Regions from separate parts of the Homo sapiens genome. Here region 2 is linked to region 1. The links are contacts of gene promoters, found by promoter capture Hi-C in blood cells and fetal thymus (Javierre and others, 2016). All regions are on one chromosome and are shown on one strand. The core of a region is centred on a gene start or on the middle of the fragment in contact, and the rest is flanking DNA. Distances in the headings are between cores, read along the strand shown.

Region 1 (7,447 bases), core at 3,212-5,711:
TATTGGCAGCTGGCACCTTTCGTGACTCACATGATAAAGATTTTTAGAAATGTAACTCAAGGTAGGAAGGACATAGACACTCTTATAGTATTATTGGATATGAAAATTATGCAGGTGGGTGATTTCCCCTAGGAGACAATTCTATGTGAGTTTTAGACATCTTGCCGGAAGCTAGGCCATGATAAGGATCCCATCTCCTTTCCCCTGTCCTTATGATCAAAAGCCCCTGCTTCCCCATATTTTTTCTCATTCTAAAGCAGGGTCAGAAAGAGCCAGAAATGACTGAGTCTCTAGGTGGGAGGCTGGAGGCAAGCAGAAGAGGGGCTTGGGGGAGAGGGGAAGGGAGGCAGAGAGGGGAGGGAAGTGTGGGCCTGAGGTAGAGTCCTTTCTTTTATTTTTGTAGACTTAGGTTATTCACTGTGAGAGTCCTTTCTTTTTGCTTTGTTTTTTGAGAGAGATTCTTGCTCTGTCACCCAAGCTGGAGCGCAGTGGCGCGATCTCGGGTCACTGCAAATTACACCTCCTGGGTTCAAGCGATTCTCCTGCCTCAGCCTCCCGAGTAGCTGGGACTACAAGTGCCTGCCACCATGCCCGGCTAATTTTTGTATTTTTAGTAGAGAGGGGGTTTTGCCATGTTGGTCAGGCTGGTCTCGAACTCCTGGCCTCAAGTGATCCACCTGCCTTGGCCTCCCAAAGTGTTGGGATTATAGGCCTGAGCCACTTGCCCAGTGAGAATCCTTTTCTGACTGCATGGTTTGGCCCTGAGTGGACACTTGGAATTCAGGCTACAGGCCGGGAAAACATTACCATCCTTGCACCTGCTGGGTGGGCGCCCATTCTGTCCGACCAGGAAACAGGTCCCAGCACCCAGGTGCTAGGCATACAGCGAGGATAGCCTGGGTGTCTCCTGCTCTCAGGACCACCTTGTCTGGTGGGAGACATGCATATGTAGAAACATGGGAACATGGCAGAAGAGGCAGGAATGGAGCTGGGGGCTTTGGACCTAGGGCAGGCATGGCTGAGCTAGGCCATTTCATTCTCTCCTCCTGAAGAATGGCCCCCTTCCTTCTGCTATTGTTCTGTGGAGTCCTTCTCTGGTGCTTGGGAGCCCAGCCAGCAGTAGCCTCAGTGACCCCAGGGACAGGCCCCCACAACAGCAGAGGAGAGAGAGAGGGACCGGGGTGTTGGCGGCGAGGCTGGTGTGGAGATAGGGAGATGAATGTCTTAGCTGGAGGAGCTGGAGAAGTCCAGGCTGCCCATTTTTCAGAGGGGAAAGCTGAGGCCCTCATAGAGCAAGGGATTGTCCAGGGAAAGGAACGTGAGTATCGAGGAAGAAAAACCTGGGGGGCAGGGGCCCAGAAGAGAAGGCAGATCCCTCTCCACCCCACCCCAGGCAGGAAGCCCAGGCTCCAACCACCGCCTTTGGGCCAGGCACCTCTGCTGTCCTCTGAAGGGGTGGGGAGGATGAGTGTGGCTTCTGGCCCACTGGACATGCTTGCAAGGCACATTTGCAGATTTGCTGCTGCAAGGGGAGGGGTGGGCTGGTGGGGAGGTGCCGGCCTGATGGGGCACCTGGAGGGTGGAGAGACCCCTAGGCTCCTGTTTACTCCCCCTCAAGTCTCAGAGGCAGCCCAGAGGCAGAAGGAGACTTGATGGACACTTGCGCAAAGTCAGGGCTGGACCGGGCAATTCCACATGCAGTTCTCCTGGCTGGTGAATTCTTGAATTAGTGGGAGGGCAGGTTCACTCTCCAAAGTTGGACCATAAATTCTCCGAGGGGCAGGATCGCCTCACCCGGACACTGGCCCTTATACATCCCAGGGTACCAGTAAATGTACGCCTCATCCAGTCGCTTTTCTAACTGCAACAAGAGCGAAGGAATATTTATTGGGCACTTACTCTGTTCTAGACACTATCACAGCAGGGACTGCTTTTCATTCTGGCACCAATTCTGGGAAGTAGATGGTATTATTATCCCCATTTGACAGAGGTGGAAACTGAGGCCCAGAAAGGTGAAGTGCCTTGCATAGAGACTTGCTCAAGGTCACATGCAAATGGAATCAGGACTGGAATCCAAGTGGGTTCAGAGCCTGCCCTGAATGCCCCACTTTTCCTCCTTCCTAGGGCCCGTGGCACTCTTTCTGGGGCCAAGCTCAGGCCAAGCTGAAGGAGCCATTCTGGAAGCAATTCTGGGCAGACGAAGGCCAAGAAGCCAATTCACAGCGGTTGTGCTGACGAGTTTCTTGGCAATGTGGAAAGTCTGACGATCTTACAAATGTGTGAAACTGAGACTCAATTTTCCCTCATCCTACCTCCCCTTTCTACCCACCCTCCAACATGGATCTAAATATGGATGCTATATTGGGGGAGTAGCCCCCCTCTCTAGACTGCAAGAGAAGATGACGTTGGGGAGGAGGTGGGGCCAGCCAAATTGGGCAAGAGCGGCCTCAGATGATGCTGCCTCCAAAAAGGTCCCTGTGTAAGTATGAGGTGGGTGGCTGAGATTTCTGAAATCCGTATCTGAGATGACTAGGTGGAGTCATACATTTCCACCCTTCTGGGGTTAAGGACACAGCCTTAACCATTTAGGGTGACCATTTAGGGTGAAGTCACTGTTTATGGGAGTCTAAACTGTGACTTTGGCAAGGTGCAATATAAAAATGCTAATACATGTTTATGCACTAAGCTGGAAATAATGCCAAGCCCCTCAGTTAAAAAAAAACCTGTCAAGAATTGCAGTTTCCTTGAGTCGGAGGAACTAAGTGAGCTGTTAAATGAGGACTGTAAACCTGCCACATGGCGACGTTGCTTTGGTTATTAAATAGAAATACCTGCTTTCTATATGCATGCACTGTTGTTTACATGCCTCTGAATTTCTAATTTCTGCAGGAGATTCTGGTGACTGGTGTGCCATTTTCTCAATGTTCACAGTTATTATAACTTTAAATATTTTACCCATATCCTGTAACAATGTCATCCAAGTGTTCTTTAAGTGGTGGTGCTGAAAAACGCACCTGAAAATCGATAACATTGGAAAGGAAGTGAGATGTGATAAAACGTTATGAAGAAGGCCAAACCACCGGCAGGAAATGCTGCACTGTTAATTTAGCAGAGAGTGCGTTATGAAATATTAGCGATAATGCCAGGGAAATAAAAAGCAGCATTAAGGCAAAAATATGCCACAATTGGAGTAATGTATGCAACCTATCCTTTCTACTTTGCATTCATTTCTCTGGCAAAATTAGTCAGAAATTATGCACGCTTTGAATTATGCAAGTTTTTCAGGACCACATGCTTTGCATAAAACTCTACTGCCCTGAGGTTCTCAGTGGGTGGAAGAATGAGTGACCATATTCTAGGGTTATCTTAGGCCAGGCCGTTGTACCCTCCTGTCCTAGGTGGGGATGAAGTGACCTCATGTGTAAAATGGGACCGTTGGACTGGCTTGTCTTTCTTTCCTTATTAGACTATGTCGAGACAGGCACCATTATATTTCTGCCCCAAAGGTGTCTTTTTCTGGACGGATCCCACAGCTGATACCAAACTTGTCTTTATTAACTGTGAGGCTGGCCATTCAAACACCAGGTGCCAGAGAGGGTCCCTCACTCATCGGAATCCGGGTGGGATGAATCCTCGGAGGCAAGGTCCCTCCACCTTCACCCTAGAGTCACACAGAGACTTGCCCTGGCGGCTGGTGACAGGTGGGCGGGAGAAGAAAAGGCCCCTGGGGAGCAGGAGAAAGCCAGGTGCCATGGGGACCCAGCGCCGCTGGAGGGCAGCACCAGCACACAGCTGAGGCCGCCTCTCCCGGAGCCCGGAGGGAGCTGGGTTCCGGTCGCCAGCGGTGCCCGGGTGAGCAGTTCACCCTCACGTCCCTGCTCTGACGAAGTTTCCATTCTTCTGGAGAAGACAAAATAAACGTGAACAAATGAACAAGTGTGCATTGTCAGGCAGCAAGTGTTGGTACAAACAAGATAGTGGTGGGGGTGGGGACACCGTTAAATAGGGGCCAGGGAGGCCTAACCCGGGAGGGGATAGCTGAGATGCCACTTGAGTGGAGAAAACAGTCCGAGATCTGAAGGTGTTCATGGAGAGGGGAAGGGGCCCCTAGAGGAGTCGGGAAAGCCTGGGTCAGGGAAGACGAGAAAACTGAGGAACAGAGAAGCCAGGTAACTTACCCAGGGTCATAGAGCCGGTGAGCTGGGGACAGCGCCTGTCAACGCCCCAGAGCCTTCCACGGCACTGGTTTCTCCGACCTTCCTCTCTAAACAGGACCGTGACAGTGACAGTTTCTGCCCCACTCCCCATTTCTGACCGCAGTCCCCATAAGGAAACAGGGCAGGGATCACTGGCTGTGAGCCCAGCAAGTCCCCTCCCGTGGCTTTCTCAGTTATTAAATGGAAGGGTGGGTCCCCCCATAACTCCGAAGCTCCCCTCTCTAAGCGTCCGCGGGCCGGGAACGCCTGAATTCTGGCTCCCGAGCACCTTCTTGTGGACAGTTTTGGAATCACACGCTCAGCGAGAAAGGGTCGTGGGAAAATGGTCTGTGCTAATTTCGGAGAGGCCAGTGGATTGGAAGGTTATCACTGAGGGTGGGTGCACGTGTGTGTGTGTGTGCGCGCACGTGCATGCGTGCATGCATCTGTGTGCCTGTGTGTGTTGGTCTGTGTGTGAATGTACCTCTGTGCGTATCTGTGTGTATGGTTGTGTGTGAGCACATACTGCCCGAGCCTGTGTGTGTGTGAGTGTGTGTGTGCACTAATGTTTGTTTATATGGGCACAGGCACACACATGTCCATGTCCATGTGTGTGTACCTGCATCTGTATTTTTTCGTCTGGTGTATGGGCTTGTTTTTGTGTGCCTGCATGCATGTGCCCATGTGCGTGTGTGTTTTGGGAACTGGGACACAGAGGATGATATGAGAAGTCCCCAGTCTTTCTCACAAAGGCCTAACCACTCTCCCTGAAGCCAGCTTTCTCCCCTACTTGCTTCTGTCTGCACCATCACCTGAGTTCTCCCACCTGAACTTTTCACCGACATTTTTGATGATTTTTCTGTTTTGTGTCCGTTGAGGCTCATTTGAATGTTACAGATCATAGCTCAAGAAATGATTCTCAGGCCGGGCATGGTGGCTCATGCCTGTAATCCCAGCACTTTGGGAGGCTGAGGCAGGTGGATCGTCTGAGGTCAAGAGTTCAAGACCAGCCTGGCTAACATGGTGAAACCCCGTTTCTACTAATAATAACAAATTAGCCAGGTGTGGTGGCGTGTGCCTGTAATCCCAGCTACTCGGGGGGCTGAGGCAGGAGAATCACTGGAACCGGTGAGGCAGAGGTTGCAGTGAGCTGAGATCCCTGGGTGACACAGCGAGACTCCGTCTAAAAAAAAAGAAAGAAAGAAGTGATTCTCCTCTAGTCTACTCACCCAAATCATGAGTTTCACTTCTCAGGTGGGCTGATCACCCACTGTCCTGTTGAGACCTGGGGACTTGTACAAAGTCGTACCCTGGAGGGTTGAGCAGAAAACCAGGCACATAGTAACTAAGACAATGGCGCGTTAGCAAAGCACTCCACACATCCCGTTCACATGTGTGTCTTACTTGACTCACAAACTGATCTTTCATCCTTTTTTTTTTCCTTTTTTGTGGTGAACAGGGTCTTGCTATATTGCCCAGGCAGGTCTCAAACTACCGGCTGATCTTTCAAGCCTAGGCAAGGTGAGGCTAATTATTCCCATTTTACAGATGAAGACACTGAGGCTCAGAGAGGGAAATAATGAAAATAGTACTGCAGGAACCATCTAACCAATATGCAAACTCTCTCATCCAGTTTTCATAACATCATCAATTCCCTTCTTTAAAAGACAAGGAGATGGAGGCTTTAAAAATGTAAGGCGAGTGCTTAATGCCATATAGCCAATCAGTAGTTGAGGCAGGATTTGAATCTCGCTCCAGAGATTAAAGCCCAAGTCCTAAACACAATGGCAGGCGTGAGGGCCCTGGGCACACACTGACTCAAGCTCTTTCAGCCACACACTGTCCCTTTGCCATGCCTCTGGGGTCCTAAGAACATCCTCCTCTGAGCCCACAGGGAGGTCATTCCCCATCCTGGGTGCCCCTGCTCCTCTCCCAGATGCGGGGCAGGTGAATCTTGTAACCTGTGTCACTCTCAGAGGCTGAGATGGGGACTGAGCATTAATTATGCAATAACCTCGCTGTGGTGTGCCTAATTGTCTGATAACCATAATTGAATCTTATGGATTACACCAACATTATTGCAGGGAGCAGCTTAAGGCAGTTAACAGAAGCTGCACTCACTTTGTGATATCTTCCTCCTGTCTCCTTGCTGGCTGGGCTGTGAGTCCTTTCCTGGGGGCTGAGGGAGGCCTCGAGGTGCAGGGGGCAGGCAGGAGGTGAGTGACAGCACAAATGTCGCATCACCTTATCCCCCCGAGGGCACCATCTTCCTGGCTGAGAAAAGTCTGTGTGGCAGGTGGAATTATCATTTTGTAAATGAGAATGTGGCATCAGAAGGCTGAGAGACTCTCCCAATTTCAGTCTTGCTCATTGCTACTGGTCCTTGCTAGCATCATCTGGGACTGTTTAGACGTGCAGCATCTCAGCTGGGCTCGGTGGCTCACGCTTGTAATCCCAGCACTTTGGGAGGCCAAGGCGTGTGGATCATGAGATCAGGAGTTTGAGACCAGCCTGACCAACATGGTGAAACCCCGTCTCTAAAAATTAGCTGGGCATGGTGGTGCGTGCCTGTAATCCCAGCTACTCAGGAGGCTGAGGTAGGAGAATTGCTGAACCTGGGAGGCGGAGGTTGCACTGAGCCGAGATCACGCCACTGTACTCCAGCCTGCGTGACAGAGCAAGACTCCGTCTCAAAAAAAAAAAAAAAAAAAAAGAAATGCAGCATCTCAGGCCCCACCCTGGACCTACTGAATCAGAAGCTGCATTATTTTTTATTAAATGAATTTTTTTTCTTTAAAGAGATGAGATTTTGCTCTGTCTTCCAGGCTGGAGTGCAGTGGTGCGATTGTGGCTTGCTGCAGCCTCGAACTCCTGGGCTTGAGAGATCCTCCAGCCTCAGCCTCCCTAGTAGCTGGGACTACAGTCGGAGCCACCATGCCTGGCTCTCAGAATCTGCATTGTAATAGCATCTCAGGTGATTTATTTTCACGTTGCCGTTTGCTGAGTGCTGGTTTATGTAATTATTTATTCATTGCCTATGTGGGATCCATTGCCCTTTCTTGTGTCAGCAACACCTTGACTTCCATTTGGGAAATAACCCTTCTTCCCATATGGGAGACCCCTAGCTGTACCCTTACTCCTACCTCCCTCAGGCATTGACCCCAGGCCAGGCCAATGAGTCAGTTCCAAGATCTTTGAGGCACTGTTGAGGAAGACGTGTTTGATGGAGTTTTGCTGAGGCTTCTTCATTC
Region 2 (7,406 bases), core at 4,355-6,854, 230 kb before region 1:
TCCTGGCTTCAGCGCTACCTGGATTCCTTGAAAAGACAGGGGGCCCTTTTCTCATCTCTTAGAACCTCACTATCACTTTGCATGTTTTTGAACACATGGTAGGTATGCAGTGAGCTAGTGTTGATAGATGTCTCGTCACGTTATGGTTGGTTGGAGGGAAGAAAGATCACTTTTTAAGTTAGTCACTCTATATTTAAGTGTTTTTGTAATGGGAAATCACCTGTAAAACGAGCTTGCAGGAACGCTCTAAAGATTAAAACTGTGAAGTGTGTGGCATATGCTAGGCACTTAATAAGTAAATAATAGCTCTTGTTATTGTTATCTTTAAATTTTACTGACTGTTGTTCTGACTTTGACTTTGCATTTTCTGAGATCTTTGAAAATACATATTGTTAGTACCTGTTGATTTGTATTTTGTGCCTTTGAAGGAAAGAATAGAAATATTATTCCAAGGGAGGGTTGTTGGTCTTAAAATATTTTTGTGCCATTTTTATTGTAGGCAAGTATATCACATTCTAATAGGCGTTTAAGACAGTTCAATACTTAATACAAGTGTATCTTTTTAAATAAGACATTTGACCAGCTGAATAGATTGTAGTAACCTGTTGTAAACTAGTTTCAGCTGAAATCTCACTGATCCCACTAGATGGCGTTAGTTCATTAAGGCATAACTTCATCCTCTAGCTCAGGCAGACAGCTGCCTGTGTAGATGAACTGATTTTAGTATCTTTAGAGAGTGAATGTGGCAGTAAACTTTTAGACTCCTTGTTATTTATATAGCGTGATTTGTGGAGGTTATTCAGAAAGTTTAGGAAGATAGAACACTGAGGGCAGATTTATTCAAACTAAAGAACTATAACAAGTTGCAATATTTCGTTAGGTGCTTATTAATTCTGGATTTGACTTAGCCTTTGCCCTAATTGTATATACAACCGAAAGATTAAGAATTTACTGATTTCTCATGGTTTTTTGCCCTATTAAAATAATTCTTGTTTGGGCTTCTGGAAGCATTGGAAAACAAATGAAAATTGGGAGTACACATTTTTTAAAGCATGAAGTTTATAACATTTAATTTTAAAATCATTTGGCTCTTATTTATAGGAACTATGTCAACAGTGATCTACTTGTCAGTTAATCTGGTTCTTTAATCGTAAATGTAAAATAACAGTGAACATCCTAATTCTTTAATTCTCTCTTGTCTGAATTTGAATTATTTTTTATCTACAAAGACTGTTTTATATTAGACCAGCCCATTTTCAAAGTTTAAAATTGTGCTTTTCCACAGGCATTTGTAGGCTCCAAATAAACTTTTAAAATTGTATGTTTTATTTTTCTTACTGTTCTTGAGAGTTCTGAAGTTGAAGTTTTTTAAAGAAATGAATACGATTCACATGCAAAAAAAGCATTTCCACATTTCATTAGAAGTGTTTCTTTTTTCTTTATGATCAGATTCATACAGCTAGAGTAAATTGTTTCAGAATTGGTGGGATGATCCGTCTTGAGCTATGGAAGCTTAATTGTGCTACAAATATTATTCTTTTATTCATTGCTCATAGGGAGTAAGTAGTTGGTGCTGATGGTTCCCCTAATGTTTATTTAACTATTCCAGTATAAGGCAGTTCACATTTCTTAGTAAAAGGATCGTTGATAGTTTCATTTACCTAGTATGTAATAAAAAGCTGAGAATAATCAGGGGCATTTGCTAATGGAGTCAAAATAACCTGTTTTATAAGTCAGAACAGGAAGGTCTGAACATTTGGTGCCCATTAATTAAGTTAATATTGCAAATGAGGTTTTTGCTTTTCTTATTATCTTGAAACCTTCAACCAGAAAAAGCAACTGCCTAAGATTATTTGGTATATACAAGGCGTTAATATATTGTGCAAATATTCTACAGTCTGAAAAATCTCAAAATCTGAAACACTTCTGGTCCCAAGCATAAATTTGTATAAATTTTATACAATATTTTACATCATTTTGTACATGAAACAAAGTTTTGACTGCATGTTGACTATGATCTATCACTTGAGGTCAGGTGTGAAGTTTTCCAGTTGTGGCATCACGTCAGTGCTCAAAAAGTTTTGGATTTTGGAGCATTTTGGATTTCAGATTTTTCAGATTAAAGATGCTCAACCTGAATTTTTGGACTGCGGTTGCTCTTGGTAACTGAGCCTGCAGAAAGTGAAATTACTGATGTGGGGGACTGCTGTATTAGTTGGGTGTATACATGCATGTGTTAAAATTTAACTGCATAATCTCATTTTCCATATTCAGAGACATTTGCAGTAAGAGACAAATATTATTGTAAAGGGAAAAAGTAAACTTTGTTGTGTAGTGCTTATCTGTTTCCCTGTGTTTTTTCTTGAGGGTAGCCATGATAAAGAAGGGGAATAAATTTCGAACACATGTAAGTATGTGTGTAGTGAATGGGAGAGAGGGAGAGATGGTATTTTCAGGAGGCATAAACTGTATTTTACAAAGACATCTTTTAGATGATGAGTCCTTTAGTCTTGAGGAGACAGTTCAATGGAAAGCATTCTAGGCCTGGCAGATACAGCCCTCATCCACAGTAAAAGTTAAGTGCTATGAAAAAGTAATAGTCTGTGCTATGCAAACCAATATGAAGAAAAGTGAGTTTTTGTTTGATAAGAGGTCAAATGAGCACAGTTCTTTAAAACTTTTATGTTGAAGAAAAGAATAGAGAATATTCTGTCATAGCTACTGATAAAATATTTCAGTTTATGAAATATTGTCACTTACATGTTTTAAGTAGCTTTTAATATAATCTTAGAACAAGGACTTCCTTCTCTCCTCTACCCCTTCCCTACTCCCCAGTGTCTCTTATTTCTTATCTATTAAAAGTGAAATCCATTTCCTTTGGTCAAAAGTACAAGTTTTTTACAGTGTCCAAGACATCTCAAATTGATTCACTTTGTTATATAGAAAACACCATCTGTGATGTCAGACCATTTCTTAGAAAATTGACTGTTAAGAGCTCTTTTGCATTGAGTTATTTGGTTTTTATGAAGATGAACATTGGATGAAATTTCTTACCAGTATGCATAATTCAATGATTTTAAGAATCTATGGAAAATAAATTTAAACATTTTTAAATGAAATGGGATAAGAAAAAGGGGAGACAGGATTTTATTCATTGGTATATCTTTTTAATTTTCTACTTTGTGACTCCGTTTAAAAAAACCAACTCTGTAATTTTGAAGCAGAGATTCTGAAATTACCACTTTTCTAAAAATATCACTTACAGCTGAAACTTAATATATTGAAGCATTTTTGTTCTGAGGATGATACATATTTTCATAAAGATGTATTTCCAAATGGAAACAGCACTGAAGCTTCTGAAATAGGGAACCTTTCCAAAATAGGCTGTGGTTGCCTGGGTGAAGAATATTAGGTTGCAACACTCAAAAAGGAAATCCTGGCATAGGAAGCAATTGATGAAGGGCAAATGTCTGCAGAGTGTAATGAAGCTTTTAAAAGCACTTGTGTGGGCCTGCATGCAAGGCCTTGCCAGTACTTTTCAAATTAAAATTCATGTGCTCTGTAGTGTGCTGAGCCATACTCATACTTCCATCTTTACTTCTCTTCTACATAATATATCATTCTTATTTTTAATCTTCTATAAGTACTAGTCATCATCCTAGTGAGAATTGTAGCGTTTTCTCACTCTGCCCTTCGTGAAAATGTCATCATCATTATGGGCAGCAGGGCAGCTTTATGGTGTTTTAAAAATCAAGTTCATCAGCATTTTTAAGCTATCAATTTCTTGTTTTAGTGTCATTAGTACTATGAATATTGAATATTTTATGACTCTTTAGTTTTATAAAATATTTTTTTCTTTTAGCAGTGGGGGAGAGGATAGGTATTATCCTCATTTTGTAACAGTATTAACACCGAAGAGAGTCTGAGTGATGACTAGACACATAGATGGTGTGAAAAGAAAACTTGGCATTTTTTTTTTTTTTTGAATGTTAGCCTTTAACCCAAGCTCTTTCCTCCATACACTATATGCACAAAGTTTTTAGGACTTTTTTTAGTGGCACTCTCATATACAGATTTTCTTTTCAAAGCAAGAAATAATCTGAGCTTTAAAAAGATTCTATTGAGGAAATTATTCTACTCCTGTTTTTATAGTCTCAGAATGTCTCAAGATAATTTTAAATGGGTTTGTGCTATTTGGGGGAGAAGAGAAAGTCACAGAAACTTACCTGATTTTGCAAATCCAAAACAGTTAGAAATCATAGTATTCAATCTTTAGAAAAATTTCTGTAGCAGATATTTATCCAATTAATTCATTTTATTTGAATTCATTTAATTTGAGCTGTGTTTTAAGTAAAAAGGTATCAATGATCTACTTAATGTTAAATACATTGGGTGTTTTTTTGTTTTGCTTTGTTCTAGAGACTTTTTTTTTCATTACAAATTTCGGCCTTGGGGAAGAAGGGTCTTTTGAATAAAGATAAAACTAGTTCTGTGGAGGGGTTTGAGGGGGTGCCTCTAAATTCCCTGAAATGTGTGCAAAATTGTTTTATATGTTTGCACACATAGGACATTTTACGGGGACAGAGTCCAAAGTTCTTCATTATATCCCTTAAAGGTGTATATGACATCCCCTTTATCTAATGGTAATATCTGTGACGTAAATAAGTTCCCTTATGAAGTTTGAATATACAGCACTTTCTGCCCTTAAATGAAAAAGGCCATGTGTGAATTCCTTTTTTTTTCCCCCAAATAGTGCTTTCAAAAGCCCAGAAGTATTTGCTGAGGGTGGTTCTCAAATAAATCATCATTTATAAATGGAAAGAGATATGGTAGGTTATTATTGGAAAGTTAATAAATTTTACAAATTGTAGTAAAGTTACAAATTAGTTTATTTCTGAAGCATTAGCCATTCCACAAATATTTTGAGGACTATGCATTCTAGTTATGAAGGCCAAATATAGTAACAAATGGTGAGGATGGAGCAAAAGAAAAAGTTGCCCAAAGGAGCTCAACCCACCATTAAAACCTAGCCCAGTGTGCCAGATTATAATGATGTAAATCACTAATGAATATCATGTTATTTGTAAGGGAGTGTTTAAAAACATTAAGTGAAGTAGTAATTTTTCAGTAGTCTAAATTTTAATGAAAGCATTTACTTATGTAAATTGGAGCTTTATTTTTATATATTAGTTTTACTGTTTTGTTTTCACTAAAAATAGTCACTCTTTTCTTTATATTTTCTCATGAAATCCTTCCGAACCACTTCTAGAAATGGCATCGTCTTGCCATAAGTATTTTGTTTTCTCCCCATCTAGTTTTTATGAAGTAGTGCTAACTCTGCCTTAATTTGATTTGGCATCCCTGCAATTGAACATTTGTAAGTATCTTGTATTATGGCCCATCTGGGTTGTCATAGAAACCAAAGACCTCCATCCTCTTCCCTCTAGTTAAAAATGGAATGCAAACAGGGCTTCAAAGTGACGTTTTTCTAGTACGAGTGACAGCCCTGTGAAGTGCAGAACAGAAAGGTTTCTTATTGGTTTTATTCTCCCATGGCCTATCATACCAGTTAACTCTGATGCACACAGCCTTTCTCTTGAAAATCTGGCAAGATACTAATGGAATTTTAAAAATGTAAGCATGGGGGAAAAGAATGTAGTTAATCCTTTTCCTGTTCTTTTCTTATACAAAAATTCAGTGTTAGCTAGCAGTGTTTTTGTTTTCCTCCCTATGTTATTAGGTGGTCTGTTGATGCTGTGGTGCATGTGACGGAGACACCAACTGGAGCTTCTATTGTTAGTCTTGTTATTTATTTCCTAGGTTATATCAATGTGGGCTTATCTCATTAGAATCTACAGGTGCATTGGCTAAGTACATGGCAATACTTTATCGGAATAGAAATTTGTTGATAACAGTGATATCTAGTGTGCTGTCAATGGACCTGGTGACAGAACATCTTAGAGCCCCATTTCCAGCCCCCCTGGTGGTCACAGAACCTTTGACTTAACCTTGATGGTTTTTCAGTTTCCACATTCCCTTCAGATTCTCTACCAGAACCATACATGGCTTTAAGTTTTTCTTCTTAGACTTCTGTGATGTTTCTGCTTCTGAAGCAGCTATGTTAGTAAGTTCCAGTGAATTATTTCAGTTGTGTTAGCAAAATGTCTGATTTTATGGTTAAGATATGTTGAGCTATTGCTGTAGCATTACTTAGAGTTTAGAGTGTCACATTCTTATTTTAACATAGGTTTTGAATATAGAAGATGACACAGTGACCTCTGAACGTGAAACAATGAAAAAGTGACATATAAATTTATTTATTTATTTATTTATTTATTTATTTTTTTGAGACGGAGGTTCACTTTTGTTGCCCAGGCTGGAGTGCAATGGTGCGATCTTGGCTCACTGCAACCTCCATCTCCTGGGTTCAAGCGATCCTCCTGCCTCAGCCTCCCAAGTAGCTGGGATTACAGGCACCCACCACCACACCTGGCTAATTTTTGTATTTTTAGTAGAGATGGGGTTTCACCCTATTGGCCAGGCTGGTCTCTAACTCCAAACCTCAGGTGATCTGCCTGCCTCAGCCTCCCAAAGTACTGGGATTACAGACGTGAGACACCATGCCCAGCCATAAATTTATATCTTAATAGGAATGTTTCAGAGGGGTTGGATTAAAATCATTAGACAATTGAATTTGACAGATCATTGGTCAATTTTAAGTGTCTTTACAACTTTTCAAAAGAAAAACGTTATAGAGTCTTTAAAGCTGTTTAAAATTATTCACCATTTGACTGTTACCTAGTTTCTGGTAATTGTGTACTTGTCTTTAGTCCCATATCGCAGCTAATGGTCATTTTCAGCAGTGAATTCAGAAGTGCTATGAGTACTATCATATCTTGATGAGAGAGATCCTGCAACTCTCAGTAGAGTATGAAGAAGTAGTGCTTAGCTTCTGTTACAGCTAGAGGTGAGAGAATATATTTTCTAAATAACACTGTATTCCTTGGCATATAGTGTAGAAGTGAATAATTTGTTTGCATAGCATAGTGAGGGAAATAGTGTAGCAGTTTCTTCGTGCTAAATATGTTGGTTTCTTCTCTATAGTTTGCTGCCTTCACTAACAATTTGACTGGTACTATTGTGTTGTCTTATTTTGCTTACACCTATCAAGCAGTTAAAAGGGCTAATGTACTGTCCTCAGCTCTCTAGTCAATCGAAAAATTAGAATCTCCCCTAGATCATTATTTTTACTTATCAATGTTGTTTAAAAAGACTAGAGATGTTGCTGGTTGTTTAGTAAATGTCATGTTGCAGCCTTGCAGAATATTGCGACTTTCTCTTAGCACAGAGGATAAGACAAGCCTTCCTGTTCACCACTGCTATGCCTCATCCTCAAGAGAAAAGTT

The links. The method cuts DNA at HindIII sites, captures the fragments that hold promoters and counts their contacts. A CHiCAGO score of 5 or more calls a contact.
Region 2: a contact is called between a fragment that was not itself captured here and the fragment with the promoter of LINC02716 in region 1, in 1 of 17 cell types (naive B cells). The highest score is 5.5, in naive B cells.

What each region holds. Positions count from the first base shown.
Region 1 is chr11:45,768,446-45,775,892 of GRCh38, reverse strand. It overlaps LINC02716 (long intergenic non-protein coding RNA 2716), which reads right to left and starts at 4,461. Exons shown (of 2, transcript NR_027134.1): 1 at 4,179-4,461; 2 at 3,535-3,900. RefSeq lists an enhancer at 4,268-4,769. The HindIII fragment of the contact is 20,811 bases long and covers 1-7,447 here.
Region 2 is chr11:45,999,862-46,007,267 of GRCh38, reverse strand. All of the region lies in intron 6 of PHF21A (PHD finger protein 21A), which reads left to right. Among named protein-coding and RNA genes, the nearest start is that of LARGE2, 81 kb to the right of the region's middle. RefSeq lists an enhancer at 5,925-6,547. The HindIII fragment of the contact is 4,227 bases long and covers 3,491-7,406 here.